Regions from separate parts of the Homo sapiens genome. Here region 1 is linked to region 2. The links are contacts of gene promoters, found by promoter capture Hi-C in blood cells and fetal thymus (Javierre and others, 2016). All regions are on one chromosome and are shown on one strand. The core of a region is centred on a gene start or on the middle of the fragment in contact, and the rest is flanking DNA. Distances in the headings are between cores, read along the strand shown. Region 1 overlaps CFAP54 (cilia and flagella associated protein 54). Region 2 holds the start of NEDD1 (NEDD1 gamma-tubulin ring complex targeting factor).

The links. The method cuts DNA at HindIII sites, captures the fragments that hold promoters and counts their contacts. A CHiCAGO score of 5 or more calls a contact.
Region 1: a fragment that was not itself captured here is called in contact with the fragment with the promoter of NEDD1 in region 2 in 2 of 17 cell types (endothelial precursors and total CD8 T cells); the score reaches 7.9 in endothelial precursors.

The regions. Positions count from the first base shown.
Region 1 is chr12:96,580,578-96,583,277 of GRCh38, forward strand. CFAP54 (cilia and flagella associated protein 54) reads left to right here. Exons shown (of 68, transcript NM_001306084.2): 21 at 20-112; 22 at 343-528. Among named protein-coding and RNA genes, the nearest start is that of CFAP54, 92 kb to the left of the region's middle. The HindIII fragment of the contact is 1,849 bases long and covers 437-2,285 here.
Region 2 is chr12:96,905,830-96,908,529 of GRCh38, forward strand. It overlaps NEDD1 (NEDD1 gamma-tubulin ring complex targeting factor), which reads left to right and starts at 1,428. Exons shown (of 16, transcript NM_152905.4): 1 at 1,428-1,471; 2 at 1,775-2,027. RefSeq lists a silencer at 1,461-1,740 and enhancers at 1,981-2,070, 2,111-2,250. The HindIII fragment of the contact is 8,934 bases long and covers 1-2,700 here.

The sequences.
Region 1 (2,700 bases), core at 111-2,610, 330 kb before region 2:
TCATTTTTCTCGTCGGCAGGTCTCCTGGTACTGCATTTTGGGTTGCAAAGCAGAAGGAAGTTATGGAAAAGTACGGCTAAACAATAATCATCTCCCAAATTCAGGAGAAGCGGTACGTCAAATTAAACATCAGGAAATCTTACTGAAGCCTTTAATGATAATTAAATTTTTAAATGAAGTCATTGTTTTGGTGAATCTCTCTAATTTCCACCTGAATCATAACTAAAATCCAACAATGAAAGAAAAAGGTTTTTTTTTAATAGAAGGTTTACTTAATTGTATTTTAAAAGTCATGTTATTTTAATTTTTCATGTATAACTTGAAATATATTTTTCTTAATAGATACCAGCTGACGGTAAAAGTGTTTTTGAAGTGAAAGGTTTAGAAACCAATGAAAAGTATGTATTTGCAGTTGCTGCCTATTCTAACAACGGAAAGCTTGTCGGTGGTGCTATTGGGGAGACAACTAAACCAATTCTGGTTTATCCCCCTCTTTCTACTATTACTGCTCGGATGTTCCTGACACAGGTAGAAAAGATTTCTGCTAATTTTTTCCACTGTGTTTTTTTTTCCATTAAGCAGTTATGAAGTAATTTCTGATGGAAATAAAAATCACAGCAGATATTCTAAAGCTCCTATAACACATATTATCCATTACTACAGTTTTGTCTCATAAAATATGAATCATTCCTTCTCTTATTAGTAAATTTGCTTTTTGACAATAACATTTTTTCCCCTGGATTACAAATGTAACACATATATATTAATTTTAGAAATGCTGGAAAACACTGAAATGCATAAAGAAGAAAATAAATGTTATCTGTTATCCTATCATCCAGAGTAGCAGAGTTCTTACCCTGGGGCAATTTTGTCAATGTCTAGAGAAATTTTCAGTTGTCACAAACTAGAGGGGTGCTACTGGCATCTAGTGAGTAGAGGCCAGGGAGGCTGATAAACATCCTACAATGTACCGGATAGCCCGCATAGCAAAGAATTATCCAGCATAAAATGTCAGTGGTGTCAAGATTGAGAAACCCTAATCCAGAGATATCCTTTTATTTTTGTGTATCTATCTGCCTATTTATCTATCTAATTAATATATATATATATATACATGCACACACACGTGTATATGAATTTATGTACAATATATAATTTAAATCATAGTATACATATTATTTTACATCCTGATATTTTCACTTAACATATAATTGACATTGCTGTATTCCATTAAGTATTCTTCCAAAACATAATTTTTAATGGTTCCATGGCATTGAATCTTATGGATATATAATAGTTTGTTAGTAATTCTCCATTGCTAAACATCTAGATACTTTCCAGTCTTTTGCTATTATAAACAAAGCTATGATGCCCAACTTTGTATATAAATCTTTACCTACATCCATGATTACTTTCTTAGGGTAAATTTATAAAAGTAAAACTTCTGGATCAGTAGAGGCAGAGAGACCTGAGTTCAAATTCCAGCTTCTCACACTATCACAGCCATGTGATAGTGGACAAGTAATTTTCATCTGTGAAGCAAGAGTAGCAGTAGTAGCTACTTCCCAGAGGTATTATGAGTATTAAATGGAATTATGCCTGTCAAATATTATCACACAGTAGGCATTGAATAAATAGTATTGTTTTTAGTTAGGGATATACTCATGAATTAATGTTTTTTGTCGAAATAGTTGTTGCCTGACTTAAAACATGTCATCAGTGAAGAGGATGCTAGGAAGAGTGACTCATTGACATAGGTCTCAAGTATCTAATTTTAAGCCTATTCTTGACTGTAGAGCTGATGGCTTTTCTAAATTTTGTCATATTTCTATTCTATTTTCTCTTAATAGTTGATTAGTAATATAAGATAAGATCTTAGTGGCATTTTATATAGCATATTTTTCAAAGAAAATTAAATTGAGAGAATTACTAGGATTTGTCTAGTATTGGTTTAGCGTGTCATACTGGCTCATGGTTTTCTGATGTTTTGGTATCTTTGGAATCTAATATATTCCCTAATTTGCAGTGATGGAGTTATTGTGAGGAACTGAATATTTCATCAAGGCCTAATTTTTCTCCAGGGAGTGGTTTGACTCTTGGGCTTAATTTGGTAGAACTTTCATTGAAAGTTAATAAAACTAAGTCAGAGCTATACTGCTGGGATAATGAGTAGTGTCATGAAGTAATGACCTGTGTTTCTTTACTGACACTATATTTGCAGTTCTGTAGTTTATTTATGATGGTTTATGTGCATTCTGTCTCATAATGTTAAGAGGCTAAAGCAAAGCTTTCTCACTTATTAAACCTCCTTAATTTATAACTTAAGTTTAAGCTTTTAAGTTTCAGCAAGTTAATGTACCTCTATTTTGTAAGTGCAATCTAATTTTCATGAGAGTGGTTAGTTTCTAGTTTCAGGACAGTTCTTTTCTTTAAAACATATTATTATAAATATTTGATAGTAAAGCATGGAGACGTTTCACTAAATGCCTGTGATTAACTTGGCTTTTGGGACTTTAGGTTGTACTTTTTACTCAGCATTATTCTGTAAATATTAATAAAATCAAGTGAATCTCTACTAGGCTTTCCCTAAATGTAGAAGGCTATTAGTTTAGTGTATCTGGAAATTTTTTTTTGAGGAAACTTTTTGAATTATCTATTTTCTGTGGCTATTTTCTCTTCTTTTTAGACTATTTCTTTTTA
Region 2 (2,700 bases), core at 178-2,677:
TCTATTTCCTCATATGTAAAATGGGGACAAATAATAGCACATACTTCATGTGTTTTTAGAAAGATGAAATTATATATATATTGCATACATACACATTACGTCTATATACACAAATACAGTGCTTAGTAAAGTGTTCAATAAATATCTATTTTTATATGTATAACTAGTATTATATCATATAATATGTATATATTATATTACATGTATTATTATATATATTTTCATATAGTCTAGTCTCAATTTTCCTGCTGGCTTCAATTTTCAGAGATTTAATTAATTGCCCTTTTTGTTTGAAGTTTTCTTTTCTCCATTTGCTCCCATTCTCCCTGCCCCCACTCCCTTACCGTACTTTCTTAGTTCCCAACTTTCTGGGCCTCCTCCCTGCCCAAATTGGATTTCATAGCCTCAAGAACTGCAGACTGTACAATTAAGGTAGTTGCTGCTTGCTATCTTTCTCCTTTTGCCACTCCCCCATGAACCTCAGTAACTTGGCTACGATTTCAATTTCTGCTCTGAAAAAATGCACTTATTAGAATTTTCCAATTATCTGCAATATGAATGCAGATAACTGGGGCTGATGTACCTAGTTCAGAAACACACCCCATGTAGTTGTGATGAAAGAATAACACTTTTTGCAGAAGAAATGCTCTATATTTATGATAAATATTCTTAGCAAAAATTGTCAGTAGAGCTATAAAAGGACCTTTGGAAGGGGCACTTGAAAACTCGGCTCAGCAACTTCCTTTTCCACCTTGAAGTATCCCCTTCAAAAGAATTCCCAAACAGATGATGTTTGATGTTCCGGACCTCGCAGCATGATGCGAAAGAAAGATCATGGGTTTTGAAGTAGGTTAGTGCAGACGCCTACTCTTTGGGTTATTTCTCAGCCTGAGCGCGTTTCCTGGCTTGTAAATCGCATGTAGGAATCCTTTCCTAAATCCACATCCACAATAGTTTCCCTTATTATGGGTCTTCGTGCATCTTATACCTTTCATTATCATAGTTTCACTTTCCATTTAAGCATCTAATAACGTCAGCTTCCTATAGTGCATTGTAAGCTCCACAAGGCCAAGGACCACGAGAATTCACTGTACCCCTGTATCCCCAGGCTAAACCATCACTGTACACTCAAGAGTCTAGCACAGTGCCTGGCACACAGTAAACAGCAAGTGAATGACAAGCAGTTGGCAGTGGCCGGAGCTCCGTCGCTGGGGCGTGGAGAGGGCCGCCCCGGCCCGCAGTTCCCGCCCTGACACTGGGATAACTTCCCCCGCGGCTGCCCAGCGCCGCCCTGACCAGACCCTCTGTACCCCGACTTCTGTCCGGCCAGAAGCCACAGCCGCACGCAGCGCCTCGCCCCGTGACGTCACTCGGGGCGGGACTTCCGGCCGCCGAAGTTTAACAGTCCAGGCGGGAGCCGGAAGCCCAGCGCGGAGCCGGCCGCGGCCCCCTGTTGTGTTGCTGCGGAGAGGTGAGGTTCCGGAGGCCCTGAGGTCAGCGGGCCCCCGCCCGCCGCGTCCGCGCACCCTCCCGATCCTAAGACCCGCTCCGTCCCCCTCAGAGGGCGGGGCGGCGGTCCTTGGGCTTTGCGCGCCCGGAGCGGTTGCTGGGCGGGGGCGCGGCGGCGCGCTGGGCTGGGAAGTGTCCGGGGAGGCGCGGGCCGGGGTCGCGCACCTCCCGGAGCCTTGTGGGGTGTGCTGCCTCCGAAAAGTTTGCCTCGTCTCCACAAGTCTGTCTCCTTTTTTGTCAACCTCAAGTACTTTTCTTTTGGCAGGTACTTGGATGCATTTTACAGGTTAGCCTCACTTGAGCTGTTGTCCTGCAAGTAAAGTGTATTTTTGGTGATTGAAAGTTGGAGAACTTTCATTTCAGCTGAGTGGTGTAGTTGAATTGGTTCCTGTAGCCGCTGTCCCTAAACCCAGGCCGACGTTACCGCCTTGTGTCCTGACTGCTAGCTTTCGACGGGACCGTCTTTGAGGGACTCATGTAAAGTCTCTCCCTTAATGCTCAGTTCTTAGAAGACCGAGGTAGGTGGGCAGATGGTCCTCTTCCCCGCCCCGCTTTAAGAGCCGAAAACAAACATTAAATCACCCGGCGAGTTGTGTTTCCTAAGTTGGAGCAGGTCGTTTGAACCCAGTTTTTCTGAGCCCAGGCCTCAGTGATCTACCCACTACACCCCGCAGCTCACCAGGCCTGGTTACGATGCAGTTAGACACAGCTTGCAGTTGTGGTTTACAGGGCTTAGAGCTCGCTTTTCCAGCAATTCATTAGTTGTTCCTTGACTTGGGAACCAAGGGGGCACGTGTTACACATGTTTAAGGCTCCAAATCCAAACATTGTGTTACATCTCTGCAGGTGACTTTAATGGCTTTTAGTAGCACTGTATCGGATGAATGGAGCATAAGGAAGCACATGAGTGAATTACATTAACTTTTTGTCTCGAGAATGAAACGTTTCTATAATTCTGTCTTTAACTTGTCCTCTGAAATGGCTTATACTAGACGTAGGTGTGCTGTTGTATTGGTGACTCGGGGACCTGCCTGTGACATCACTAATGCTGTGCAGTAGTCTTGCACTTTCCATACTAGGAAGGTGTGGGAGGTATAATTCTGTGCCCTCTCCCTTTCCTTTTCTCCCATGTACTTTTGAGCATCTTTTTTTCTCACTTATCGTTCATTACTACCTGTTGCTCTTTAAAGT